Regions from separate parts of the Homo sapiens genome. Here regions 1, 3, 4, 5, 6 and 7 are each linked to region 2. The links are contacts of gene promoters, found by promoter capture Hi-C in blood cells and fetal thymus (Javierre and others, 2016). All regions are on one chromosome and are shown on one strand. The core of a region is centred on a gene start or on the middle of the fragment in contact, and the rest is flanking DNA. Distances in the headings are between cores, read along the strand shown.

Evidence for each region. Contacts are between HindIII fragments. The CHiCAGO score rates a contact against its expected background, and 5 or more counts as called.
Region 1: a fragment that was not itself captured here is called in contact with the fragment with the promoter of EOMES in region 2 in 7 of 17 cell types (naive CD8 T cells, total CD8 T cells, activated CD4 T cells and 4 more); the score reaches 20.5 in naive CD8 T cells.
Region 3: a contact is called between a fragment that was not itself captured here and the fragment with the promoter of EOMES in region 2, in 6 of 17 cell types (naive CD8 T cells, naive CD4 T cells, non-activated CD4 T cells and 3 more). The highest score is 10.9, in naive CD8 T cells.
Region 4: a contact is called between a fragment that was not itself captured here and the fragment with the promoter of EOMES in region 2, in 12 of 17 cell types (total CD8 T cells, naive CD8 T cells, activated CD4 T cells and 9 more). The highest score is 27.1, in total CD8 T cells.
Region 5: a fragment that was not itself captured here is called in contact with the fragment with the promoter of EOMES in region 2 in 1 of 17 cell types (M0 macrophages); the score reaches 6.6 in M0 macrophages.
Region 6: a fragment that was not itself captured here is called in contact with the fragment with the promoter of EOMES in region 2 in 7 of 17 cell types (naive CD8 T cells, non-activated CD4 T cells, total CD8 T cells and 4 more); the score reaches 16.3 in naive CD8 T cells.
Region 7: a contact is called between a fragment that was not itself captured here and the fragment with the promoter of EOMES in region 2, in 3 of 17 cell types (M1 macrophages, M0 macrophages and monocytes). The highest score is 6.0, in M1 macrophages.

What each region holds. Positions count from the first base shown.
Region 1 is chr3:28,164,794-28,169,045 of GRCh38, reverse strand. No RefSeq gene overlaps it. Among named protein-coding and RNA genes, the nearest start is that of CMC1, 75 kb to the left of the region's middle. The HindIII fragment of the contact is 1,212 bases long and covers 1,992-3,203 here.
Region 2 is chr3:27,720,440-27,724,371 of GRCh38, reverse strand. It overlaps EOMES (eomesodermin), which reads left to right and starts at 2,049. Exons shown (of 6, transcript NM_001278182.2): 1 at 2,049-2,958. The coding sequence starts at 2,078. RefSeq lists a silencer at 2,414-2,623. The HindIII fragment of the contact is 2,734 bases long and covers 1,068-3,801 here.
Region 3 is chr3:28,181,675-28,185,798 of GRCh38, reverse strand. No RefSeq gene overlaps it. Among named protein-coding and RNA genes, the nearest start is that of CMC1, 58 kb to the left of the region's middle. The HindIII fragment of the contact is 1,392 bases long and covers 923-2,314 here.
Region 4 is chr3:28,225,594-28,229,787 of GRCh38, reverse strand. No RefSeq gene overlaps it. Among named protein-coding and RNA genes, the nearest start is that of CMC1, 14 kb to the left of the region's middle. The HindIII fragment of the contact is 9,028 bases long and covers 1-4,194 here.
Region 5 is chr3:27,276,511-27,280,851 of GRCh38, reverse strand. The region is part of intron 22 of NEK10 (NIMA related kinase 10); the gene reads left to right. Among named protein-coding and RNA genes, the nearest start is that of NEK10, 91 kb to the left of the region's middle. The HindIII fragment of the contact is 934 bases long and covers 1,627-2,560 here.
Region 6 is chr3:28,201,135-28,205,381 of GRCh38, reverse strand. No RefSeq gene overlaps it. Among named protein-coding and RNA genes, the nearest start is that of CMC1, 38 kb to the left of the region's middle. The HindIII fragment of the contact is 3,335 bases long and covers 780-4,114 here.
Region 7 is chr3:27,296,568-27,300,562 of GRCh38, reverse strand. It overlaps NEK10 (NIMA related kinase 10), which reads left to right. Exons shown (of 36, transcript NM_001394966.1): 14 at 3,323-3,384. Among named protein-coding and RNA genes, the nearest start is that of NEK10, 71 kb to the left of the region's middle. The HindIII fragment of the contact is 8,587 bases long and covers 1-3,995 here.

The sequences.
Region 1 (4,252 bases), core at 1,348-3,847, 440 kb before region 2:
TAGTAGTATATAATAAAAGAATTACGAAAGTTCAGGCATAGACTGTATAAGAAAACAAAAATGTAGTCACATGTTTACTTAAAATTAGAGTCCACACAAATGGTAGAGCTAACAATGCTGACTGTCCAGTACTGATGATTCAAATACCATAACCAGCATTGCAGTTAGAAACATAATTTGTTGAAATGATATATATGGTATTTTGAAATAAATATTTCTTTGTAAAGTTCTGCACAAAACAAAAAGTAATCTTCTATCAGTTTACAGGGTAGTTACATTTCTGGAAAGGTCTGTGAATCTATAAATTGTGCAAGCATAGGTCAGGTGCGGTGACTCATGCCTGTAACCCCAGCACTTTGGGAGGCCAAGATGGGAGGATCACTGGAAACTAGGAGTTTGAGATCAGCCCGGGCACCACAGGGAGACTCTGCCTCCATCATAAATAAATAAATAAAATAAAGAAATAAATAAAAAACTTTAAATTGTGCAAAGATAGACTTTGTGTTAATATATAAAACAAAGTTAGCTTCTAAGCTTATGTAATGAAGGTATGTCATCTTCATGGATGTCTGGAGGGATGCTAAAGCTATGTGAACTCCTGGACAATTCTGCATTCCATAGAAGTGTTCTGCACATTGCAGGATGTCTCACATTCCTGGACACTGCCCACTAGGTAGTGTCTTCCAATAATTGGGACAACCAAATATGCCCTCACATATTTCTGAAGACCCTGAAGGAACATTATTGCTCCTGTTGAAACATACCGTCTGTCAGTAAATGTGTTCTTTTCTAAATATTATATCTTTTTGTATTTCATCATTATAGCTGACAAATAACATTACCTGGCATAATGTAACGTAAAAGGGACATCAATAAATAATTACATACTTACATTGTTAGGTAAAAGCAGACAGAACTATTACACAATAAAATTATATATGGATCAAGAAGTAAATTTCTTTCAGACTGAGTGACCTACAGTGACAGGATTAAAATATTCTCCCTTTGCTTACCTCTGGAGATACTTTCAGTTACAATTTAGGACACTTTACAGCGATATTGTGACACTACAAATTGTAAATGACTTTCAGAGAACAGCCTTCAGCTTTTCAATGCCCCTGAGGTATGTGATCTTAAATTAATATACACTTTGTTGAATCTGATTGCTTAATTAGGACCCAGAATTCCTGTGATATCAGAAACTTCTTTTTTTTTCCTGACAAAAACTTCATAGTACAACAACGCATGATCAACACAATTTCATGATGAACAGTTCAAAATTGAAAGAGCCATTAAGACTTTTTTTGGGTTACTGTTAATATATAATTAAACACCGTGACAGATGCTCATCAAGCAAATCTCCAACAGAGATTTATTTATTTATTCATTCAAGCATCCTCTGAGTTTATAGTAATAAATCCAAGAAGGAAAAATTTTGAGAAAACAACCAAATGATCTAATAAAAGTGGTAAAATAAAGTTACACTAAAAAAAAGAAAAACCCGTATTAACCTTTGTTTTATGCCTACCTGTCCTCTTCTGCTTTTGGTGTGAAATCACCTATGGGTTGCATTCAGAAGCTTTGATACAGCATACTAAAATTTCTCAGTGAGCCTTTTTGTGATAGAAAATGTGAACTTCTGCATTTCTTTGACAAGCTTGCTTTTTTCAGAACTCAGATCCCATGTACATATTTATGCATGTCACTGTTAATAGTGCCTCACATTTATAGGGAAGGTTGCAGTATGGTCAGCCCTTGGCAAAAGTTCATATTGCCCTTTAACAGCATAGAATTGTTGCAGGAAAGGAGTTTCCAGCCCTATACACCATTTTTCAGCATGTTCTGAATCTTAGTGGAGCCACATGGCTAAACTCTGGCCAGTGGAAAGTGGATGGAAGTAGGGTATACCCCTTTCCAGACCTGTCCTATAATATCTCTGGACCATCCTTCTTGCTATCTTATCTTTAATCTGCTAGCTGAATGTCAAAGCTTAGGACCTTTTTGGAATGTATGTATAGAAGTTGGCAAGGCCTCTATCATCCTGATCCCTGAATTAGCGTGTGGAGCAGAGTGCCCCCTTCTCCTTCCCGTGATTAGACTTTACAGAAGCCAGAAATACACATTCATTTGAAATACATGTTTGTTTGTTTAAACCAATGAGATCTGGAGTTTTATTCATTACAGCAGCTTGCATTACCTTAAGAAAAATGAATATTTGGCCAGGCATGGTGGCTCACGCCTGTAATCCCAGCACTTTGGGAGGCCAAGGTGGGCAGATCACGAGGTTCAGGAGATTGAGACCATCCTGGCTAACACGGTGAAACCCCATCTTTACCAAAAACAAAAAAAATAGCCAGGTGTGGTGGCATGTGCCTGTAATCCCAGCTACTAGGGAGGCTGAGGCAGGAGAATTGCTTAAACCTGGGAGGTGGAGGTTGCAGCGAGCCGAGATCATGCCACTGCACTCCAGCCTGGGCGACAGAGCAAGACTCCCTCTCAAAAGAAAAAGAAAAAGAAAAGGAAAAAAGAAATATGAACATTCAGTATTGTGCACTTAGAAGACTTTCTGGCACATTGTGCACCATCAATGAACCAATGAAATCTTGCTCCCTGTAGAAGGGCAAAGAAAAATGCCATTTAAGTGCAATTCCTTGGTCTTCTAGAGGAGTCATTGTCAAACAGAACAGAGATTTTCTTAAAGGAAGAGCAGGAAAGACTGTGAAGTAGGTAATACTACTTGTTTATTTAATTTCACATGGTCAGTATTTTCTTACGTGACTTTGGAGATCGGGGGACAATGTAACACTAATTCCAGGTTATTGGGGAGTAGGAGGATTCATAAAATTAATCATTTAGACAGAAGCGATAGTACAGTTTCACAGAGAGGATATCATGGTAATTAGTACTAAAAAATGGCAAGTTGTCATGTCTGTGAGACAATGCTCGGTTACTACCCACATCATATAAGAAACAGTACAATACTTTTGCTTCTATGGCTGGTTGAGGAAAAGCAACCCTGTATGGACATTTATACATATTCTTACTGTAAAAATAAACACTATTATTTATGGAGAGTTTACTCTGTCACTATCCATGATTATTACAAAACCATTCGTTATCAATTGTAGTGTTCCACTTAGTCTAGCCAGATATATTTATTTAATTATGCCAGACACTTTCCCATACATTTTCTTCTTTAAGCTTTTATGTAATGTTATCTCCCATCTCACATGTGCAGTAATGAAGGCTCAGAGTTGTTGGTGAACTCATTTGCCCAAGGACAACCAGCTGTGTGCCCCCTCTACACTTTTCATTCTCTGCTCACTACTTTCTTCTATTCCTTGGTTTCCTAATATAATTGTGATTCTGAGAATTGTCCACCAAATCACCAAAAAACCGCTAGTTTAACATCAAAAGCAAACTCTCCGATAATTCAGGGCAGCACACTTGACAATAATGTGGGTTTGGAATAATTTCCTTGGAAAATTATTGGAAATACTTCACAAGTTCTCTCAAACTGGAAACAGCATCTCTGTTGTTATTGCTGTTTTTCTAACAATGAACTATTTTCCTTTAGGCATATATCTTTTCCTTATAACATTACATCTTAATTTTTTTCCTTTTTATTGAGGAGTTTACTAGACATTGCAAAGAGTTCACTGAGATCTGTATATAGCTAAAACTGTATTACCTTGAAATGTCTTTCTCCCTGGTAGGGACTGAGTCACAATTCCTTTCAGCATCATCTTTCAAAAACTAATTTTTTTATACCACAGGTTTTTCTCTAAAGGAACAGAGAGTAAACATTTTAGGCTGCTTGAGCAACAAGGTCTCTGTTGTAACTACTCAATTCTGTCATTGTGGCTGGGCGTGGTGGCTCACGCCTGTAATCCCAGCACTTTGGGAGGCCGAGGTAGCCAGATCACGAGGTCAGGAGATCTAGACCATCCTGGCTAACATGGTGAAACCCCATCTCTACTGAAAAATGCAAAAAATTAGCCGGGCGTGGTGGCAGGTGCCTGTAGTCCCAGCTACTCTGGAGGCTGAGGCAGGAGAATGGCGTGAACCCGGGAGGTGGAGCTTGCAATGAGCCGAGATCGCGCCACTGCACTCCAGCCTGGGCGACAGAGCGAGACTCCGTCTCAAAAAAAAAAAAAAAAAAAAAAAAAATTCTGTCATTGTAGTGCAAAAGCAGCTATAAACAATATGTAAGTGAATGACTGTGGCTTTTATTTCCTATTTATTTATACAA
Region 2 (3,932 bases), core at 800-3,299:
CCGTGCCAAACACTAACTATACTGATGACACAAAACGCAGGAAGCGCAGGGCAGAACGCGCTCAGTACCAGCTTTCTGGCGATCTGCTCCTGGCCACTCTGTCCCAGGACCTACAAGGCCACCGCCCCAGCCCACTAGTCTCAACTTGCCCCCTCCCCTGTGGCTGTGCCTTGACCCTGAAAATCTTCGCGCACTCCTGGGTTTCACCACCACACACACGCGAGCGCGCGAGCGCGCGAACACACACATCAAAAAAGAAAAAAAAAACCGTGATAAATGCCCTGGAGAGTCTAAGTGCATTAAGGACCTCGTTCTCGGAGACCCCAGACATGCCGATGTTGGTGCTGCTGTGGTTGGAAAACTGGGTTGGAAAGCTTCGCACTGTTCTACACTTGCGTGTGCGCACTCAGCAATCCTTTGGCCATCTCATCTGTTGTGGGCGAAGAGTTTCCCGTGTGATCGCGTTCGGTTGGGGAAGCAGAGTCCCGACATCTCAGCCGGAAAATGCGCTCCCGGAGCGATTACTGGCGGCGTCTGTAATTGCTTATTAACAGCGAATATTCAGGCTTCTCCTTATCCGCAACGAAACGTGCCCCCCGCTTCCGTAATAATGAAACGATAAAATATGACGGCCCCGCTCTTGAATCTATCTGAGGAAACGCAGCGAAGAAACAAGCAGCTGGAGTTTAATTCAATATCAAACTGATTATTTCACTAATTATTCTACCTTCTGTATTTGCCGCAGAGCAGAGGCGCAGGGAATCCTAACTGTGGGGCTGTTAGGGAAGCTTTGTTTCTTGGTGTCAGGCCTAACTGAAGATGGTGGTGAAGGGACGGAATCCGGGATCAGGAAAACTGAGCAGAAAGGATTTTAAATTGTGGGGAATAAAAGTGACTGTCTCCCCGAAAGCAGTTGTGTTGGCGTGAGTATGAAGTTGGTGTTAGCTCGCTTAGTTTCACTCTTGTCCTGTCCCCAGTACCCTGTCCAAGCTTCTGATTTAGAAGCTGAGAGCTTAGGTCCTCCAGGATGGCAATGTGCTCTGGCCGTCCCCGGAATCCCAAAAGCTTAGCGCGAGTTTCCTCTCTACAAACCTTTCCCACTGGGTAAAAGGATGGGAACAAACAAAAAGTGGTTCTGTGCGTTGAAGGCCAGGGAGTTTGCCTTCGACAAGAGGAAGGTGTGCTTTGAAGTTACAGCTTCCGACGAGGAAAGAGACTTCCTTGGGCCTGTCTCCAACTTGCCCCAGTTTCCCCAGCCTCCGGGACGGGCGCTTCCCTGCAAGCTATCAGCTTGAAGAGTCTTTCTCTCTCTGGCCTCTAAAATCTGCTCCAGCCATCTCATTCCTCCAGCGGAGGGCTGAGATGACTAATGCGCCAAGGGTGGACACCGCTATGGAGACCCCAAACTTTGTCCCCCTAAATTCCGGCGAAATTACAGACACCAGGATTGATTATCACAGCGGGACGCAGTCTCAAAAAAAAAAAAAAAAAAAAAAAAAAAAAAAGGAAAAGAAAGTCACAGGCGACTTGATCCAATTAGTAAATGCCTAATTGAATTAGTGTCACCTCCACCAGCCAATAGGAGGGTCTCCGGGCTGTGAGGCCGGGAAGCCCCTCCCTGGCCGCAAATATATAAAGCAGCTAGTGACAGCCCATAAGTTTCCAAGTGGTCAACTTGACCGATGCTTTGGCAATTGAAAAAGGGCAGAAAGGCGCGGGCTAGTGGGTGGATGGGGACAAAGATCTAAGTCACCTTCTTCCAGCGTGTGAGCCTGGGAGGAGGGTGGGGGTCCTGAGGAGCAAGAGGTACGAGGAAGGAAAAGGAGAGGGCTTCTGGGTTAGTTTCCACCTCCTGCTTTCCAACTCACGGCGCTTTCCTTCCGGAAAGGACGCTGGATTCAGGGCGCGCCAGTACGCGCAGTAGCGGCCCGCGAGTCGGCAGGTGGGTAGCCCCGGCGCGGGAGGAAGGGGAAGTTACCTTCCCCTCGGAAGAGGGCGCTGGCTCCCCCATCCTGCCTTTATAATAAGGCCACCGGAGGAGAGGAAGCAGCCAGCTGCCGTCTGCGCTTTGCAAAGCATGCAGTTAGGGGAGCAGCTCTTGGTGAGCTCAGTGAACCTGCCTGGCGCGCACTTCTACCCGCTGGAGAGTGCGCGAGGCGGCAGCGGCGGGAGCGCTGGCCACCTCCCCAGCGCGGCCCCCTCTCCTCAGAAGTTGGACTTAGACAAAGCGTCCAAGAAGTTTTCCGGCAGTCTCTCCTGCGAGGCGGTGAGCGGGGAGCCCGCAGCCGCCAGCGCAGGGGCCCCCGCGGCCATGCTTAGTGACACCGACGCCGGGGACGCATTTGCCAGCGCTGCGGCAGTGGCCAAGCCGGGGCCCCCGGACGGCCGCAAGGGCTCCCCCTGCGGGGAGGAGGAGCTGCCCTCCGCCGCTGCAGCCGCCGCCGCCGCCGCCGCCGCGGCTGCGGCCACTGCGCGCTACTCCATGGACAGCCTGAGCTCCGAGCGGTACTACCTCCAGTCCCCCGGTCCTCAGGGGTCGGAGCTGGCTGCGCCCTGCTCACTCTTCCCGTACCAGGCGGCGGCTGGGGCGCCCCACGGACCTGTGTACCCGGCTCCTAACGGGGCGCGCTACCCCTACGGCTCCATGCTGCCCCCCGGCGGCTTCCCCGCGGCTGTGTGCCCACCCGGGAGGGCGCAGTTCGGCCCAGGAGCCGGTGCGGGCAGTGGCGCGGGCGGTAGCAGCGGCGGGGGCGGCGGCCCGGGCACCTATCAGTACAGCCAGGGGGCTCCGCTCTACGGGCCGTACCCTGGAGCCGCAGCGGCGGGATCTTGCGGAGGACTGGGGGGCCTGGGGGTTCCAGGTTCTGGCTTCCGTGCCCACGTCTACCTGTGCAACCGGCCTCTGTGGCTCAAATTCCACCGCCACCAAACTGAGATGATCATTACGAAACAGGGCAGGTGAGCGCAGCGTGGAGGGGCCCCTGGGTTCGGGGATAAAGGGTGACGTGTGGTCCTGGGGAAGGTCCGGGATGAGGGAGCTGAACCCAGTTGTTCCGCGCGGTGCTTAGAGTGTTTCACCGCGCGCAATAAATCTCCGTAGACACCGCATCTCCAATGCGGTGTCCCTCTGTGTCAGTGCCCCGGCGGCTCTTGCAGGGTGCCAATGTTACGGCTGTACACCGCTTTTCCCTCCCATCATCCTCACCTGAACAGACCTGGAGGAGGCGGAAATGGAAATTAGGGCATGTCCACAAGCTGGATTCGTTAGATCCTCCTGCTCGGCGGTATGCTTGTGCATGCCTGCATGCCGGCAAGGAGCCACGGATAGGGAAGGCTCAAGAGCTGGCCACCTGAGCGCAGTAGATGGGCTCCCGCAGTTTTAGGCGCCAGGGTCTCCACGGGGCGTCTCCGGGAGGTGGGCATGAAGGCTAGAGCGCCGGCCTCGGAAGCTCGGTCGGAGTAGGTGGTTAGATCTGCCCTGGAGCCAGACCTGGCTCGGGTTCGGTGCGCGAGAAAGTTCTGATATACATCCAACTGCTAACACTGGCTACTTCTGGGGAAAGGGAGGGGTGGGTGCTGAGAGAGGGGCACTCAAAGGGGACTTTTAGCCTAAAGTTTTAATATATATTTTTAACAAGAATAACCTAATATTGTTCTCTGGTACTTTTCAAAATGGTGCATTTAAAAATTAGTAGTTTTTAACATTCTAGGAGAAAAATTTTAAGAGCGTCTGAAAGGGCCGAGAATATGAGCCTTCGGAAGCACGCGCGAATTTGGAATATACCGATGTTGGGGCAAGCTTTTTTTTTTTTTTTTTTTTTTTTTTTTTTTTTTTTTTTTGAAAAGACGGAAAGGTTCCAAGAGTTGCCAACTCAAAAATATTTTACATAGTTTCAGACCACTTGATCTACCAGCATTCTGTTCACTGCAAA
Region 3 (4,124 bases), core at 369-2,868, 460 kb before region 2:
ATGTTTTTTGGGGGTTAGGGGACATCAACTAACGTAAAATAAAGATGATTTATTTCAGCATTGTTATGGATTGAATTTTCTCCTGCCCCCTAATTCATATATTGAAGTCCTAACTCCCAGTACTTCCAAATAAGATGTAACCTTATTTGGGAATAGGGTCATTGCAGATGTAATTTATTAAGGTAAAATGAGGTCATACCGAGTAAAGTGGGCCCATAATTCAATATGATTGGTGTCCATTCGAAAATAATTCCGTTTGAAGAGACAGACACAAACACAGGGAGAACATCATGTGAACATGAAAACAAAGATTGGGGCAATGCATGTATAAGCCAATGGATGCCAAAGATGCAAACCACCAGGAGTTAGGAAAGAGGCACCGAACAGATCCTTTCTCACAGCCCTCAGAAGGAACCAACTCTGCCAACACCTTGATCTTAGACTTCTAGCCTCCAGAACTATGAGACAATAAATTTAGTTGTTTAAGCCACTTCGTTTGTGGTACTTTGTTATGGCAGCTCTAGAAAACTAATATAAGTGTCTATAATATCTTCATGGTGACTTACTAGAGCTAGTATATTTTTCTGAAAAAGGAGGCCCCTTGAGGTGTTGATGATTGTGGTCTAGTCTCTTGGCACCAGTGGTAAATCACACAGATTTGGGTTGCCTTATCCTAGTTGTAACAGTAAAGGAGACCATGCGAATGTATATTTCATCAACAGTCAGCCCTGTCTAGATTTTTCAGGACAAAAAATTCATATGGCCTGCAAAACATTATTGCAGTGATTGCTAGAGACCTTCAATAATTTTCTTCTTTCCGTATTATGAAACTATATAAAAGTTTCCTTTGGTGTGCCTGATTTTGACAATGGCAAATTGAATATTCAGAATGGTTAAGAAATTTGCCTAAGGTTAAAAAGCTTCTAACCAGTCAGGACACACATCTGGCTCTGTCTTTCTCCAATGACCGTGCTCTTTTTATTTTAAGTCTCCTGCCTTTTTATCCAGTGGAAGTTTTCTCTTTAAAATCTGACACTGATTTCTGTTTCATTAAAGCCAGTTATAGGCATCAGCTATTGTATGAGGCATTCTTACAGGATATAGGAGAATAGAGAAAGTAAACTCCAAAATTATTTCCAAATTCCAAGATTCTGGAGTTCTGTGAGAAATCAAAAAAGTTATTTGGGTATCTGGGCCTTAAACAGAATTAATGAAAGTGTAAGCTCTTAGCCTTGTCCTTCCTCCTTACAGAACGTTTTCAAATTGTAGCCAAAGCAACTTTTCTTTTTTTTTTTTTTTTTTATTGTACTTTAAGTTCTAGGGTACATGTGCACAACGTGCATGTTTGTTACATATGTATACATGTGCCATGTTGGTGTGCTGCACCCATTAATTCGACATTTACATTAGGTATATCTCCTAATGCTGTCCCTTCCCCCTCCCCCCACCCCACAACAGGCCCCAATGTGTAATGTTCCTCTTCCTGTGTCCAAGTGTTCTCATTGTTCAATTTCCACCTATGAGTGAGAATATGCAGTTTGTTTTTTTTGTCCTTGTGATAGTTTGCAGAGAATGATGGCTTCCAGCTTCATCTATCTCTCTACAAAGGACATGAACTCATCCTTTTTTATGGCTGCATAGTATTGCATGGTATATATGTGCCACATTTTCTTAATCCAGTCTATCATTGATGGACATTTGGGTTTGTTCCAAGTCTTTATTATTGTGAATAGTGCTGCAATAAACATACGTGTGCATGTGTCTTTATAGCAGCATGATTTGTAATCCTTTGGGTATATACCCAGTAATGGGATGGCTGAGTCAAATGATGTTTCTAGTTCTAGATCCTTGAGGAATCACCACCATATAATCATGTCATCTGCAAACAGGGACAATTTGACTTCCTCTTTTCCTAATTGAATACCCTTTATTTCTTTCTCCTGCCTGATTGCCCTGGCCAGAACTTCCAACACTATGTTGAATAGCAGTGGTGAGAGAGGGCATCCCTATCTTGTGCCAGTTTTCAAAGGGAATGCTTCCAGTTTTTGCCCATTCAGTATGATATTGGCTGTGGGTTAGTCATAAATAGCTCTTATTATTTTGAGATACGTCCCATCAATACCTAATTTATTGAGAGTTTTTAGCATGAAGCGCTGTTGAATTTTGTCAAAGGCCTTTTCTTCATCTATTGAGATAATCATGTGGTTTTTGTTTTTGATTCTGTTTCTATGCTGGATTACGTTTATTGATTTGTGTATGTTGAATTGGCCTTGCATCCCAGGGATGAAGCCCACTTGATCATGGTGGATAAGCTTTTTGATGTGCTGCTGGATTCGGTTTGCCAGTATTTTATTGAGGATTTTTGCATCAATGTTCATCAGGGATATTGGTCTAAAATTCTCATTTTTTGTTGTGTCTCTGCCAGACTTTGTTATCAGGATGATGCTGGCCCCATAAAATGAGTTAGGGAGGATTCCCTCTTTTTCTATTGATTGGAATAGTTTCAGAAGAAATGGTACCAGCTCCTCATTGTACCTCTGGTAGAATTTGGCTGTGAATCCATCTAGTCCTGGACATTTTTTTTGGTTGGTAAGCTATTAATTATTGTCTCAATTTCAGAGCCTGTTATTGGTCTATTCAAGGATTCCACTTCTTCCTGGTTTAGTCTTGGGAGGGTGTATGTGTACAGGAATTTATCCATTTCTTCTAGATTTTCTAGTTTATTTGCATAGAGGTATTTATAGTATTCCCTGATGGTAGTTTGTATTTCTGTGGGATCGGTAGTGATATCCCCTTTATCATTTTTTATTGTTTCTATTTGATTCTTCTCTCTTTGCTTCTTTATTAGTCTTGCTAGTGGTCTATCAATTTTGTTGATCTTTTCAAAAAACTAGCTCCTGGATTCATTGATTTTTTGAAGGGTGTTTTGTGTCTCTATCTCCTTCAGTTCTGCTCTGATCTTAGTTATTTCTTGCCTTCTGCTAGCTTTTGAATATGTTTGCTCTTGCTTCTCTAGTTCTTTTAATTGTGATGTTAGCGTGTCAATTTTAGATCTTTCCTGCTTTCTCTTGTGACATTTAGTGCTATAAATTTCCCTCTACACACTGCTTTAAATGTGTCCCAGAGATTCTGGTATGTTGTGTCTTTGTTCTCATTTCGGTTTCAAAGAACATCTTTATTTCTGCCTTCATTTCGTTTTGTACTCAGTAGTCATTTAGGAGCAGGTTGTTCAGTTTCCATGTAGTTGAGTGGTTTTGAGTGAGTTTTTTGGTGTACCTGAAAGTGACTGGGAGAATGGAACCAAGTTGGAAAACACTCTGCAGGATATTTTCCAGGAGAACTTCCCCAACCTAGCAAGGCAGGCCAACATTCAAATTCAGGAAATACAGAGAATGCCACAAAGATACTCCTCGAGAGGAGCAACTCCAAGACATATAATTGTCAGATTCACCAAAGTTGAAATGAAGGAAAAAATGTTAAGGGCAGCCAGAGAGAAAGGTCGGGTTACCCACAAAGGGAAGCCCATCAGACTAACAGCAGATCTCTGAGCAGAAACTCTACAAGCCAGAAGAGAGTGGGGTCCAATATTTAACATTCTTAAAGAAAAGAATTTTCAACCCAGAATTTCATATCCAGCCAAACTAAGCTTCATAAGTGAAGGAGAAATAAAATCCTCTACAGACAAGCAAATGCTGAGAGATTTTGTCACCACCAGGCCTGCCCTACAAGAGCTCCTGAAGGGAAGCACTAAACATGGAAAGGAACAACTGGCACCAGCCACTGCAAAAACATGCCAAATTGTAAAGACCATTGATGCTAGGAAGAAACTGCATCGAATAATGAGCAAAATAACCAGCTAACATCATAATGACAGGATGAAATTCACACATAACAATATTAACCTCAAATGTAAATGGGCTAAATGCTCCAATTAAAAGACACAGACTGGCAAATTGGATAAAGAGTCAAGACCCATCAGTGTGCTGTATTCAGGAGACCAATCTCATGTGCAGAGAAACACATAGGCTCAAAAGAAAGGGATGGAGGAAGATCTACCAAGCAAATGGAAAACAAAAAAAGGCAGGGGTTGCAATCCTAGTCTCTGATAAAACAGACTTTAAACC
Region 4 (4,194 bases), core at 1,598-4,097, 500 kb before region 2:
AGGAAAGGATTATTTTTGTTCTTAATTGCCATTGTAGCCTCAAGAGCACAGCAATTATTTGTTGAGTACCTGGTACATAAAAAGCACTCAGTAAATACTTGTTGAATAAATAAATGACCATAGGAGGCAATACTATCCTCGTTGCCTATATTGACAATAAGGAAACTGGGACACAAAGATACAACTAATGAATGACAGAGCTAGGATTTAAAGTCGCATCTGTTTGGTTCAGAGGCCACGTTCTTTTTACTATAATAATTAATCAGCTCAGGCTTCCACAGCAAAATACCACAGGCTGGGTGGCTTGAACAACATACATTTATTTGCTCACATTTCTGGGGGCTAGAAGTCCAAGGTCAAGACGCCATCAGGATTAGTTTCTGGTGAGGCCTCTCTTCCTGGCTTATAGGGTCACCTTCTTACTGTATTCTGAGATGGCCTCTTCTCTGCGTGCACACAGGAAAAGAGAGAGAGAGAGAGAGAGAGAGATCTGGTGTCTCTTCCTTTTCTTATAATGACACCAGTCCTATTGAATTAAAGTCCTGCCTTTATGACATTATCTAACCTTAGTTGCCTCTTTTCAGGCCCTGTCTCCAAACACAGTCACATCGAGGGTTACAGCTTCAACATGTGAGCTTTAAGGCAGGGGACATAACTTCATCTGTGACAAATAGATTTCCACGGCTTATTATAAAGACACAAAGATTTAGGGGAATCTACCCTAGGCAGGACTGCAGGGCTCTCCAGGGCTTCCTGAACTCCCCTTCTTAAAGTTAGGCTGTCATTTGTGTCCAATTATGTAAGAAATAAGAAATAGAAAAAGTTGAAATGAAAGGTATGAGAAATTTTTTTTAATAAAAAGTAGTGCTTCAACGACTAAAAACATGTCGAGAGAAGATTATTTGGTGCTCCCCTAATTAACAGACTTCAAATCACTGCCGGACCATAAAGTACCTTCTTAGCCACACCATGTCAAATTCTGACTCATATTTTCTCATTTAAGGTATTTGAATTTTACCGTCTCTTTCTTGTATTTTGCAGTTGCCATAGTCTTCAGCCACTCATTTAGTCCAGTCTCCATACTTTGGCTAGTTTTCATCCTAAGAAAATAAGACCTTCTCATTGCCTTGCTAAACTACTTTCTACGGTTTCACTTTTCCCTGCACAGTAGTTTTCAAACTTCATTGTGCATCAGAATTACCTAGAAGAATCATTAAAACACAGATTGTTGGGCCCCACCTACTTCGCCAGAGTTTGTAATTTCCTAGCGCTGGCTTGAGTCCTGAGTATTTGCATATCTAACTGGTTCCCAGGTGATGCTAACACTGCTGAACCTGGGATCACACTCTGAGAACTGCTGCCTTATGGATAAGACTAACTGCAGCTCTTGCCTCTGTCTGGCTCTAGTTTGCTTCTCCCAATTATCAATCTGCACTCCACTCACATCATATGCCTCACACTCCACCCCCATGTTTTCTCCACGCCTAGAGCACTTCAGCCACTGTTGTACTGAATGCCTTCATACCTGACAAAGTGTCTTTTCTACCCAGCTCATATACTCCTCCTCTCTCCAGTTTTCCCTTACTTTCTTAGGGTAGTCTAATGATAATCCCACACTGTGTTCGTATCAATGTTTTATATTAATGCTTTATTTAGATTGTTTTCAAGGCTTTCTCTTTCATTAGACTATGAGGTTTAACAATAGGGATCATACCTCACTTTTGTATTTCTGATGATTCACATACTGTCTGGAAAGAATAGGTCCTTGGCCTATATTACGTTAGTATTTAATTAAAAGTTAATTTAACTTAATTATTTGTAAAAGGGTTCAATCATGTATGAGATATATGATCACTCTGACATCTTCTAAAGTTCCTTTCACTCTGTTAGAATCTGACTAAAAACTCTACCAAGGAGCATTTCAACTCCTTTCAGCTACTGCGTTATTCATCAGCTCTTACATTCAACATGCCTATGCAGCTGACTTCTGTCCCAGGCTTTGCTGATCATTCTTTTGTCTAGCACTGTCCAGCCTTTTCTCTGGCTTATACCTTTGCTTCTTGAGGTTCAAACTAGGTTCTCTAGCTTTCCGTTCACTTGCCTCTTGGACCTCCACTTCCTACCAAAATAGCACAACCACTTTGCTTGATCTGATTTGGCTCATTGATTCCTGAATTTTGAAATCAGCTATAACCACTAGATGAATGCCTATCCAGCTACGGTTAGTGTCATCTGGAGGAAAGCCCCTGCTTGAGACTCCCTCCCTTCCCTCCTTTTTCCCTTTTCCCTAATGCTCTTCTTCAACACATTTTCCTGACCTTGATTTATTGTTGAATAATTCTTCAATTCATTTTTCGACTCATGGCTTGCAGGAGACAATAGGTATGGCTTTATATTTCTGGTTTAAGCTACTTATTACTCTGAAATCATAAAAGGGAAAAAAGTCTGGGCATACAAAAATAAATAAATAAATTTTAATCACAACCCACCTGTGAAATATTGCTAATGACAGCCTCTTCAACTTAGCATTAAGAGGGCAGCAGCAGATGAGTTCTCAGAAAAGAAGAATAACTCAACTCTTCACTAATTATAGTGAAAGTGTTCCAATTATATAAATTGCTTGCCATGAAGATTGCATACATTATTTACTTTCAGGTTGAAATACACCTTATTGAACTAGTAGGTTATTTTTAATATGTAGGTCAGGTTTAAGTATAAATGATAGTATATTTCCCCTATAAGCTAAATAACTTAAAAACAACAAAGAAAAACTGTCAACTTCTAGTGAACTAGATGTTACTGATGACAGCTAAGCCACTGCATCATGTTTCAAACTACAAGTTTTAACTGTACTTGGACCAAATAAATTCACTTAGAAAGTCCTTACTCCCAGGTATTATGGTATTTCTCAGTTATATAGGGAGCTTAAGGTTCTTCCTTTCTTTCTTTCTCTTTTTTTTATTTTTTATTTATTAATTTTTTTTTGAGAAAGGCTCTCACTCTGTCGCTCAGGCTAGAGGCTAGTGGTATGAACATCACTTACTGCAGCCTTGACCTCCTGGGCACAAGCAATTCTCCAACCTCAACCTCCTGATTAACTGGGATTACAGGCATGCACCACCACCAAGCCTGGGCTTTTTGAAAACCTTTTTGTTCCTCTGAACTAGACTCACCTACTTCTACCATGAATTCTGTTTTTGTTTGTTTGTTTTCGTGTTTTGTTTTTTACTCTCTGAGTCACCCTTTTTCATTTTTAAACATTGACCATTCTACTGTGTTTTATCTTGAGAAATTGGACCTTCTCTGTGGTCTTTCTCTTAGATTGATTCATCTTGGGGACTGCAACTGTTGCATTTTATGTGGAGGTTTCCCAAATAACACTAGAATTTTGATTTCTCTCAATTTTAAGTTTACATCTCTAGCTCTTTACTGAATAATTTAAATGTTGTATTGATACCTCAAATTTAGCACATTGAAAAAAGTCTTACTCTCTGTCATCCATATTTCTCTCAATATTCTCAACGCAACTCATATTTTAAACCTCAATTATCTTTGAACCTAAGTTCTGCACTTCACTCCCTAAATCCAAATCATGTTGCGTAACCTTCTCTAATACCATATATTTTTATTTTCTCACAGTCAATGTTTTTGTGCGGACCACACCCCTTTCCACTTGGACTATTTTTGTAGCCTCCCAACTATTTCAGACCTTTAGGCTTTCTTTCTCCAATTCCTTCTATGCCCAGCCAGATTAAACCCTTTAAACTCCTTTTTCATCTCATGATGTTATTACTTGCCAAAACCTTTCAATGATTCCAGATTTTCCAAACTTACAGGCCCAACAGGCCTACATGTGGCATAACTTTATTTTATAATCTTATTCCTTCTTACTTATCACTATCCTTCTGGACCCTCAATTTATTGCATTTACAGAAAGTTTCAGAAAAGTGGTGGCTCTTAAAAGGAAGAATGAAATAGCTCCAAAACATTTTTGAGATACTTTGTTTTCTTCCAGGACACTTCATCATGATTACATACCCCTTCTTTAAAGACCAACTATTTCCACAAATACAAAGTAGCACCATGTTGCCTACTAAGTCTCTCCATGTACATGTGAGGCATCTCAGTCTGTGTTCATGGCCCATAGCTGAGTTTGGTGACCATATACATTAAAGTAAAACAGTAGGAAGAAAC
Region 5 (4,341 bases), core at 844-3,343, 440 kb after region 2:
AGCATATATACATGTTTTATTCCTGCTTAGTATTATCTGTCTTTCTGGCTGGGGGCTTTTCTCAACTGTCTTGTGACCCTGGGCTGGTCTCTAATAATTTTGAGGAAGGCATGAAAAAGGCTGTCAGAAGCACTGCGAGTTCCAGTTGAGGCTGTCATCTGGTGCCCTTCATTATAATAAAATGGAAATTTTCCTTTGAAGACTCCAAAATCAGTATCTAAACTTTGTTTTTTCTAGAGAATACTCTTCAAGTATCTTGCCTGGGGGTATGTGCGCCTGTTTGCTGTCATTCTGAGCAGCGTCAACAAACGGGGCTCAAGGAACCACATTCAGTTTATAAATTTTCGTCGAATTCTACCGTGCTTGGTTCCTTGCTGGTTTATTTCTTTGAAAAATGAATATTTTCTGTTAGTGGCAGAGGGTGCTTGATTTACTGGCTGTGTGTATGTGGGAGGGCACCTGGGAACTTGATCTCAATTCTATGTATTGAGCTTTCTGCTTCTCTTCTCCCTTGGATGGCACCCTGGGCTCTGCAGGGTTAAATGGGCTCCCTTAAGCCTTCCTCCTCAGATGCATGGGTAGCATTTTTGCTCTGCTGAGTCTGACACCATCTTCTACCTGCTTTCCATCTGCCACACATTTATTGGAATATCTCATCCTCTGTTGTTGCCAAGCCCATTCTCATTGTTCCTGTGGGTTAGTAACATTCCAAAGAATATCCCCTCTCCCAGCTTTTTTTTTTTTTTTTTTTTTTTTCCATTTTAGGGGGTTTGAGATTTAGAGGAGATAAAAACATATGGTCAATTCACCTTTTAACCCACAACACCCAGCCAATTTTTGTATTTTAGGAGAGACGGGGTTTCACCATGTTGGCCAGGATGGTCTCGATCTGTTGACCTCATGATCCGCCCGCCTCGGCCTCCCAAAGTGCTGGGATTACAGGCGTGAGCCACCGCGCTCGGCCTACTTCCAGATTTTAAGGCCGTTTAGCTTTAAGTGAAGCAGTATTTTCCTAGTGTCAAATAAAGAAGCAGCACAGGTTGGTGGCATACTGGTGAGGCTAGCAGCCTTCAGACACAGAAGCTAGTGAGCTCAGAATGGGATCCTAGCCTAGTCTAGTTTCTCTTCACTAAAGCAATTGTGTGGTTAGGGCATTCATGTACTCCCATTATTTTCAGTGACTATAAAATGATTTTATGACTGAAAAGATAATCCACAGAGATTTGATGTCATTCTTTAAAAAATACTTTAAATATAATAGTGCTGAAATATTTTTCAGTGTCTATCTCTATTGATATAATGTAAATATGTCCATTAGTCTCTTATCTTTAAGAGGGATTATGGTTAAATTAAAACCCTGCAGCATTAATTTAAAAGTAAGTGTATAAAATTTCCATATTTTAGGAAGTGGAATGCAGCTGCAATTAGTAGAGCCTGTGAGAATGGGCTGGCTGCTGTGGGTGTGAAAGCATGTCACCACAGAGGGGCAGCCTTGTTATGTTTTATTTTTCTCTTTGCTTGCGCTAGAAGGTTTATTTACTTCCAGAAAAGAAACACAGAATTGCCAAATGATGTTTAAGATGCATGAGACAAAGTGTACTGAAAATGTGATCAGAAAAAAAAGCTTTCAGAAAACTAAAATTTTCATCTTCTCATTTTTCTCAATATAGGTGAATTAAATGTTTTAAGATTGAGGTTGGTTTGCACTTATTTATAGTAAGCATGCTGGCAGGAGTTTGCTTTGATGAGGAAGCAGAATAGAAAGTACTCACATATTCTGCTATGCTTGGTTTTGCAAATGCTATATATTTTTAAGTCTAAATATATTTCCATTTGAAAGACTATCTTTTGATGGCATGTGCCATGACACATGTTCAGGTCTTGTTCTCCATTTATTTGCAGCCTTTGAAACCATCCAAGGAAACAGACCCCGATTCAGTGGTACATGGGGTGAGACACAGTCAACATTTGCCCTAAATACTGTCACTTGCCAAATAAGGTCCATATTGTGCCATCACATTACAAAATGACTCTTGAGGGAATTTGGTAAAACTGAACTTACCCTTGAACCCACCATTCCAGATTTCTTGACCTTTTCAAAAACCCTTATTTTAATGTAAACCTTCCATGTCCGCTTGCCTCCTCTGCTTTCAAATAAAAAAGGAAAAGAAAAAACAAAACTCATTTAATTATAGTTAATAGATTTCAGGCATGGACTTTAGTACATGACACAGAAGGTCACATGTTCATCTTGCAAACAAACAGGCTATGTGAATTTCTGTTTCTCAAGTGATATTTGGCACCTGCTCTGATGATAACAACAAGAAAAAACCTGATTCAGTGTAAAGTTTATCAAAGGCTCCAAGGCTCTTCAAATGTTATCACAGGTCAGGCATTGCTGGGATAGATATAAGATGAAAAGCCATGGTTTCTGCTCCCTGAGCTCACAGTCCTATGGGGAAAACGTCTGTTATTCACTCAGCAATTACCTTCCTAGCTGACACATCCTACAAGTGAGCACAGCAAGCATGAAGGACATAACCCCTGTCTTAATGAAGCTTATAATTCTGTTACAGAGTGATGAAGGCTAGAATGTATATGCAAAATACTGTAACATGTAATAAGTAACCTGAAATTCTCAACAGCTTAAAACAGTGGCAAAATACAGCCTAAAACAGTGGCAAAATACAGCCTGTGGGACAAATCAAGTTGTGACCTATTATTATATGTCCTGTGAGTTAAGACTGGTTTTTATATTTTTAAATGCTTGTTGAAAAAGGAAGAATACATGACAAAGACCATATTTGTTCCATTTAGGCAAAGCCTAAAATGTTTACTATCTGGTCTTTACAGAAAATTTTGTCTGCCTCTGACTTAACAAGACTCCTATCCTGCTAATGCTACATGTCCATTATGTGTCAATAAGGGAGCTTCCTCTGTACTTGCTTCTACATCCCAGAGGCAGGAAAGACAGAACATGGGAAACCATGCCGTGGCTCTTAAAACTTCTGTCCCAAAGTAACACATGTTACTTCTACTCAGATTTCATTGGTCAAAGAAAGTCAGGTGTAGCAGGATGTGGATGCATTCCTCCTCCGAGAGAATATGAGTGAATAGTTATATAGTCTATCACAGCTATATAAGCACTGGGGAAAATGTGACTAACTGTGCCTTAGGGATCTTTTGGTGCAGAGTTAAGCAGGAAGGGTAAGAGCAGTTAATGCAGAGGCATAGCACATGCAGAGGATAGAGACATGAAGGAGTATAGTGTGTCTAGGAACTATCAAGGTGTTTGATGTGGCAAGAGATGAAGGAGCCTTGGTGGGTGGGGAGCTTGGTCAAAGACTTATCCTCAGAGATTTTTCAGACTAGAAATTATATGATCAGATCTGGGAGGTAGAAGGATTATTAAAATGGCAGGTGAGGGAGCATGCTGGGGAAAGACTGGACCCAGATACTCAGTTTAGGACATGTATCAGTTAGGATATGTTCAGGTGCAAAAAGCCAGACTAACGATGGCTTAAACCATGAGGATATTTAGTTATCTCACAACAAGGGGTCTGAGAGTGAGTAGTTCCAGGGTGGGTTCAGCAGCTTAGGGTGATCTAGGCCTTTCTGTCCTTTCTTTCCAGTATCCCCAGCAGATTGACTTCTCCATATGTTTGTCATCTCATAGTCACAGGATGGTTGCCAGAGCTCCAGACATTATTACCAAATTCAAAGATGGGAGGCAAGGTGGCTGCTTGGGTAAAATCTAGAAAAAAAAATTGTCTTCTCCAAATGCTGTCTCATCTGCTTTTACTGTTAAAGAAAATCTTCCAAAGAAGGTCTCCATTAGCCTTCTTATATTGTGTTGACTGAAACCAAGTCATGTGACTACTCCTCATTGTAAGAGAGACTGTTGAGGTGAGCTTCCAGCCTCTATAGTTGGAGATGAGAAAGGGAGAGGATTTGGTTGATGGTTTTTGGAGAGCTGGCCCACAATGTTTGCCACTGAAGGCTCTTGCACTTTTGTCCAGGAAAGTCATGATGTGGGTTTTTCCAATGACAGAAGGAGAAGAGAATGTGAAAAAGGGGCTCAATTCAGCAGTTATTTGGGACCTAGAATTAAAAAGATTTGTCGGCCAGTTAATGAGATGTGAGGTATGAGAACAGTTGAGAAAGAGGCTGAGTTTGTGAAGATTGCTCTGCCATTGGCAGAGATTTAGGTGTAAGGTTTTGGACATGCTTAGTTAAAATCTAATTATGCTCTTCTTCTGGTTAAAATCCTTCAAGTAATTGCCTATAATATTTAAGATAAAGTTTAGTTTCCTTATGGCACCCAAAGCCCTTTCTTCGTAA
Region 6 (4,247 bases), core at 1,198-3,697, 480 kb before region 2:
GGGGTGAAGAGTTCTGTAGATGTCTGTTAGGTCCACTTAATCCAGAGCTGAGTTCAAGTCCTGAATATCCTTGTTAATTTTCTATCTCATTGATCTGTATAATATTGACAGTGGGGTGTTAAAGTCTCCCACTATTATTGTGTGGGAGCCTAAGTCTCTTTGTATGTCCCTAAGAACTTGGTTTATGAATCTGGGTGCTCCTGTATTGGGTGCATATATATTTAGACTAGTTAGCTCTTCTTGTTGAATGGATCCTTTTACCATTATGTAATGCCCTTCTTAGTCTTTTTTGATCTTTGTTGGCTTAAAATGTTTTGTCAGAGACTAGGATTGCAACCCCTCCTTTTTTTGTATTTCCATTTGCTTGGTAAATTGTCCTCTATCTCTTTATTTTGAGCCTATGTGTGTCTTTGCACATGAGATGGGTCTCCTGAATACAGCACACCAATGGGTCTTGACTCTTTATTCAATTTGCCAGTCTGTGTCTTTTAATTGTGGCATTTAGCCCATGTACATTTAAGGTAACTATTGTTATGCGTGAATTTGATCCTGTCATCATGGTGCTATCTGGTTATTTTGCCCATTAGTTGATGCAGTTTCTTCATAGTGTCATTGGTCTTTATATTTTGGTGTGTTTTTGCAGTGGCTGCTACTGGTTTTTCATTTTTTATATTTAGTGCTTTCTTCAGGAGCTTTTGGAAGGCAGGCCTGGTGGTGACAAAATTCCTTAGCATTTGCTTGTCTGGAAAGGATTTTATTTCTCCTTTGCTTATGAAGCTTAGTTTGGCTGAATATGAAATTCTGGATTGAAAATTCTTTTCCTTAGGAATGTTGAATATTGGCTCCCAATCTCTTCTGGTATGTAGGGTTTCTGCTGAGAGACCCACTGTTAGTCTGATGGGCTTTGCTTTGTAGGTGACCTGGCCTTTCTCTCTGGCTGCCCTTAACATTTTTTCCTTCATTTCGACCTTGGAGAATCTGATGATTATGTGTCTTGGGGTTGATCTTCTCATGGAGTCTCTTAGTGGTGTTCTCTGTATTTTCTGAATTTGCATGTTGGCCTGTCTTGCTAGGTTGGGGAAGTTCTCCTGGATAATATACTGAAGTGTGTTTTCCAGCTTGTAACCATTCTCCTTGTCTCCTTCAGGTACTCCAATCAATTGTAGGTTTGGTCTTTTTACATAGTCCCGTATTTCTTGCAGGCTTTGTTCATTCTTTTTCATTTTTTTTTTTCTAATCTTGTCTGCATGCCTTATTTTGGCAAGGTGGTCTTCAAACTCTGCTATCCTTTCTTCTGCTTGTTCAGTTCAGCTATTGATACTTGTGTATGCTTCACAAAATTCTTGTGCTGTGTTTTTCAGCTCCAAGAAGTCATTTATGTTCCTCTCTAAAGTGGTTATTCCAGTTAGCAGCTCCTCTTACATTTTATCAAAGTTCTTAGCTTGTTTTCATTGGGATAGAACATGCTCTTTTAGTTCAGTGGAGTTTTTAATTACCCATCTTCTGAAGCCTGCTTCTGTCAATTCATCCATCTCATCCTCCATCCAGTTCTGTGCCCTTGCTGGCCAGGTACTGAGATCTTTTGGAGGTGAAGAGTCTTTTGGGTTTTCAGCAGTTTTTCATTGATTCTCATCTTCATGAGTTTGTCAGTTTCGATCTTTAGGACTGATGACTCTTGGATGGGTTTTTTGTGGGGACGTTTTTGTTGTTGATGATGCTGTTGTTATTGCTTTCTGTTTGTTTGTTTTCCTTTCAATGGTCAGGTCCCTCTTCTGTAGGGCTGCCAAAATTTGCAGGGGGTTCACTTCAGGCCCTATTCGTCTGATTTGCTCCCACACCTGGAGATGTCACTCGAGGCTGGAGAAGAGCAAAGATGGGTGCCTTCCCCTTCTTCTGGAATCTCTGACCTTGAGAGGCACCAATCTGATGCCAGTAGGATTGTTCCTGTATAGGGTGTCTGACAACTCCTGTTGGAGGGTCTCACCCGGTCAGGTGGCATAGGGAACAGGACCTATTTAACGAAGCACTTTGACTGTCCCTTGGTGGAGGGAGTGTGTTTCTCTGGAGGGAACCCACTTGTCTGGGCTGCCTGGATTCCTCAGAACTACGAGGAGGAAAGGCTAAGTCTGCTGGTCCACAGAGACTGCAGCTGCCCCTCCCACTAGGGGCTCAGGCCCAGGGAGATAAGGGTTCTGTCCCTGAGCCTCTGGCTGGAGTTGTTAGATTTCTTGCAGGGAGGTCCATTCCAGTGTGGAAGGATGGGTCAGGGTCAGTCCTAAAGAGGCATTCTGGCCACAGTCTGCCACAGCTGGTATGTTGGGCTGTGGGGGACACCTCTTGGGACCAAGTTGTCCAGCCTCACTGGCTCCAACAGAGGAAAAGTGTGGCCTGGAGCTATAGAGATGCATGCTGCCTTTCCCCAGTGCAGGGAGCTTATCATGTTAGGTAGTTATGAGTCCCAGTGCTGGCTGCTGTCCCTTCCCCAAGAAGCTGAAATGGCTTAGAGAGCAGGAAGCCACAGATGTGGTACTGGTTGCCCCCTCCCCGCTGTGAACTCAGCAGGCTTAAGCATATTCTAGTTTAGAGGCTGTTGAGAATCTGCATGGCTCCAGAGTTGGGACCCTAGGCCCCAATGGCATGGGTTTGCAAGTGGGATCTTCTGATCCAGGGGTTACACAGTTCTATATAAAAAGCACAGTTTCCCTGGCTGGGTAGCATGCTCACTCACCACCTCCCTTAGCTGGGGGGTAAGGGCTCCCCTGACCTGTGTGGCTCTCAGGTGGGCTGCCACACCACACTGCTCTTTTTTCCTCTCTGTGGATCACAGCAGCTGCCTAATCATTCCTGTTGGGAGAACCTGGATACCTTGGTTGACAGTGCGGGATTCACACAGTATTATGGTTCTTTTCAATGGGAGCCTCTGATGGTCAGAGGCTGCTTCTAGTCAGCCATCTTGGCCCTGCCCTCCTAGGGTACCCTTGGTATATAGCATTGATTCTCGTTTGGAGGGCTAACCAGTTAGTTATAACAATAATCTTTACATGCCTTAGAGCTATCAAATCATTTTCAGATCCTATATTAATTACTTTGCTTATTTAATTATTCATTAAACAACACTTTATTGACTGCTTGTGATATTACTGTGTGAGATGCCTGGAATATAATGATGAGAAAAAAACATAATAGACTCTACCCTCATGGAAATTGTGGTCTGGTAGGTTACAAAGATATTAATTAAATAATCAAACAGTATTGTTGAGTATCATGAAGGGAAAGTATGGAATGCTTTGAAAATGTAACAGGGGCATTTCTTGGTGAGTTTATGTGATAAAGGTAGTGTCCTTGAGGAAGAGATATTTAGTCTTATTAGTCTAAAAGACTAGTAAGAGGGAAAATGAAGAGGGGAGATGGGTGAAATAGAGTGTTTTTGTTTCTATTGCTGCTGTAACAAATTATCACAAACGTAGTGGCATAAATGAATACAAATTTATTATCTTACAGTTATGGAGTTTAGATTCTAAAATGGATCAGCAGGGCTGCATTCTTTCTGGGGGCTCTAGGAGAGAATCTGTTTCCTTGTTTTTTCAGCTTCTAGAGACTGCTCACATCCCAGGGCTAAAGTCTCTCTTCTAGTGATGGCAACACTCTGACCACTACTTCTGTGATCATATCTTCTTTACTGACTCTAATTCTCCTGCCTCCCTCTCATAAGGACTCTGGTGGTTACATTGGCCCCACCTGAATAATCCAAGATAAACTTCCCATTTCAGGATGCTTAATCATATTTTAAAGTCCCTTTGTCACATGAAGTAACATAGTCACAGATTTTGAAGATTAGGACATGGACTTCTTTGCAGGCTATTATTATGTCTACTACAGAGTGGCAGGCAGAGGGGAAAGCATTGATCAAAATCCTGAAATTGAGGGAGCTTCTCTCACTGGAGAAACAGAATGAGGCCACTGTGACTGAAGCGTTAGAGCAAAGGAGCATTTATGGCAGATTGGCAGGACAGAAAGGCCAGGCTAAGTCTTACAGAAATCTGCAGGCTATTAATAAGATTTAGGTCTATAATTATCCTAGAGGTGCTTGGACACATCTCTATCAAGAAAAGCTTACCTAGGCTGAGGTGGGCAGATCACAAGGTCAGGAGATCAAGACCATCCTGGCCAACATGGTGAAACCCGGTCTCTACTGAAATACAAAAAAAATTAGCTGGGCGTGGTGGTGTGTGCTTGTAGTCCCAGCT
Region 7 (3,995 bases), core at 1,239-3,738, 420 kb after region 2:
CATAGATATGTAGTATCTCATTGAGCCTTACACTTAAGATGTGTTTACGTTACATAGCTTATTCTATACCCGTATTAGTCCATTTTCACGCTGCTGCTAAAGACATACCCAAGACAGGGCAATTTACAAAAGAAAGAGGTTTAATGGACTTACAGTTCCACATGGTTGGGGAAGCCTCACAATCATGGTGGAAGGCAAGGAGAAGCAAGTCACATCTTACGTGGATGATGGCAGGCAAGAGAGGGCTTGTGCAGGGAAACTCCATGCACTTTCAATGGTTTTACAAAAAAAACATTTTAAAAACAATCAGATCTCAAGTGAGACTCATTCACTATCATGAGAACAGCACAGGAAAGACCCACCCCCATAATTCAATCACCTCTCACTGGGTTCCTCCCATGACACATGAAAATTGTGGGAGTTACAATTCAAGATTGAGATTTGGGTGGGGACACAGTCAAACCATATCATTTTGCTCCCGGCCCCTCCCAAATCGTATGTCCTCACATTTCAAAACCAGTCATGCCTTCCCAACAGTCCCCCAAAGTCTTAACTCATTTCAGCATTAACTCAGAAGTCCACAGTCCAACATCTCATCTGAGACAAGGCAAGTCCCTTTTGCCTGTGAGCCTGTAAAATCAAAAGCAAGTCAGTTACTTCCTAGATACAATGGGGTACAGACATTGGATAAATACAGCTGTTCCAAATGGGAGAAATTGGCCAAAACAAAGGGGGGCTACAGGCCCCAAGCAAGTCCAGAATCCAGCAGGGCAGTCAAATCTTAAAGCTCCAAAATGATCTCCTTTGACTCCATGTCTTGCATCTGGGTCACGCTGATGCTATAAGTGGGTTCCCATGATCTTGGGCAGCTCCGCCCCTGTGGCTATGTGAGGTACAGCTTCCCTCTCGGCTGCTTTCATGGGTTGATGTTGAGTTTCTTTGGCTTTTCCAGGTACACTGTGCACACTTGTCAGTGGATCTGCCATTCTACTGGAGGACAGTGGCCTGCTTCTTACAGCTCCACTAGGCAGTACCCCAGCAGGGACTCTGTGTGGGGGCTCTGACCCCACATTTCCCTTCTGAACTGCCCTAGCAGATGTTCTCCATGAGAGCCCCGCCCCTGCAGCAAACTTCTGCCTGGGCATCCAGGCATTTCCATACATCCTCTGAAATCTAGGCAGAGGTTCCCAAACCCTAATTCTTGACTTTTGTGTACAAGCAGACTCAACACCACATGGAAGCTGCCAAGGCTTGGGGCTTCCACCCTCTGAAGCAACAGCCTAAGCTGTACCTTGGCCCCTTTTAGTCATGACTGAAGTGGCTGGGATGCAGGGCACCAAGTCCCTAGACTGCGCACAGCAGAGGGACCCTGGGTCCAGTCCATGAAACCGTTTTTCCCTCTGAAACCTCCAGGCCTGTGATGGGAGGGACTGCCACAAAGGTCTCTGACACACCCTGGAGAAATTTTCTCCATTGTTTTGGGGGTTAACATTTGGCTCCTCATTACTTATGCAAATTTCTGCAGCAGGCTTGAATTTCTTTTCAGAAAATTAGATTTTCTTTTCTATTGCATTGTCAGATGGCAAATTTTCCAAACTTTTATGCTGTGTTCCTCTTTTAAAACTCAATGCCTTTAATAGCATTCAAGTCACCCCTTGAATGCTTTGCTGCTTAGAAATTTCTTCTGCCAGGTACCCTAAATCATTTCTCTCAAGTTCAAAGTTCCACAGATCTCTAGGGCAGGGGCAAAATGCCACCAATCTCTTTGCTAAAACATAGCAAGAGTCACCTTGGCTCCAGTTACCAACAATTTCCTCATCTCCATCTGAGACCACCTCGGCCTGGATTTCATTGTCCATATCATTATCAGCATTTGGTCAAAGCCATTCAACAAGCCTCTAGGGAGTTCCAAACTTTCCCACATTTTCCTGTCTTCTTGTGAGCCCTCCAAATTGTTCCAAGCTCTGCTTGTTACCCAGTTCCAAAGTCACTTTCACAATTTCTGTTATCTTTTCAGCAAAGCCCGACTCTACTGGTACCAATTTACTCTATTAGTCCATTTTCATGCTGCTGATAAAGACATACCTGAGACTGGGCAATTTCCAAAAGAAAGGGGTTTAATGGACTTACAGTTCCACATGGCTGGGGAGGCCTCACAATCATGGCGGAAGGCAAGGAGGAGCAAGTCATATCTTAAGTGGATGGCAGCAGGCAAAGAGAGGGCTTGTGCAAGGAAACTCCCATTTTTAAAACCATCAGATCTTGTGAGACTCATTCACTATCACAAGAACAGTGCAGGAAAGACCCACCCCCATAATTCAATCACTTCACACCGGGTTCCTCCTATGACATGTGGGAATTGTGGGGATTACAATTCATGATGAGATTTGGGTGGGGACACAGCCAAACCATGTTAATACCTAAATAAAAATGGAAAAATAAAAATTAAAAACATAAACGGTTAAGAGTAGGGTCTGAGTTTTGGCTCCACCCTCATTGATGGCTATATGGCCTTGGGAAAGTTCCTTAATTTCTCCAAGCTCCAGTTTTGCTTATGTAAAATGGTGATGATAATCATGGTATCAATGATAGAAGATCATTGTGAGAATTATGTGGGAATATATGTAAAATCTTCAGCACAGTAAAATGGAATTATCCTTTATAGGAGCTCTGTGCTATAGAGTCTGGCATACTTCTGAGAGCACAAGTATCTCAGTGCAAAATACCACCAAAGGCTGCCACAGTGGCTGTCAGGAGGCAAGAGTGGTGCTGCTTAGGGCTGGGGATTTAACGTCTGGCAGACTGGGGCTGCACTCCTGGTCATTTCCACTTACTGGTTGTGTGGCCTAGTCTAGTAACTCTTTGAAACTGTTTTCTCACCAGTAACAGTGGTAATCACAGTGCATACTCTTATTATAAGGATTGAGTTGAATAATATATTTAAAGCATTCTTTTATTTATCAACCATTATAGATATATTTGTTGAGCACCTGCTAAGTGCCAGGCATGTTTTGGGCACTGGGGATTACAATGAAATGGACAGATGCAATACTTGCCTCCTGGTACGAAGAAAGTGCTCAATAAATGGTTGCAGTGGAATAGACACGCACATGAATTACATGGGGAGGAGAATTAGAAGCCATTACAAGTCAACTTCTTTTCTTCCAGAGCTGTGCCAAAAGGAAAATTAGTGTTTCTTGAGAAGTTACTTTGCTAATAAAAATAGCAAAATAATAAAAATACCCTGTGGAGTAAGAGTATTTATGTGATAGTATATTTATTGTAATGATGCACACTATGCATTTGATTGTTGTCATTCCAGCCTGCTGTGCTGCCCTCACTGAGCTGGTGCTCAATGACACCAATGCCCACCAGGTGGTTCAGGTGAGAGCACTCCTTCTCAAGGTCAGGTCTCCATAACCATTCATAATCAACTCACCTTGTGGTGCAGTCTGTATCCCAGAACATAGGTTTTGGGATTCCCATCATGTGATTTTAAAACTATTTTAACATTTCTCGTTTAACTAATAAAGTTCCACTTTATATTCTTCTCCTTCCTCCTTTAACTCATTTGACTTAAAAAGGACTGACATGTGGTTAATTGATGTTTCTTCATTATGTTATGTGCGGTCCCTTTTATTTTTTCTTTCTAAAAGGGATACTCTGAATTGCATTAATTCTGGGTGTATAGAATACCATAAGGTAAGGACAGCAATCATTTTGATTAAGACTATGCATCAGATTATTAAGTTAAAAATGATGATTGAGACACAGCAAACAAAATATTTATTGCCAAGAAACTGATTTTGCAAAGTATAATCCACTAATTAATCTACTATATGTACAGCTATATATACATGTTTGTGTGTGTATGTATATATACACATAAATATAAATTAATAGATCTATATTAATAAACATACACATGTATATGTACAACCCTTGTATGGGTTTCTATCACAAAAGTTACCTCCTACTTAGTGAATTTTACAGAG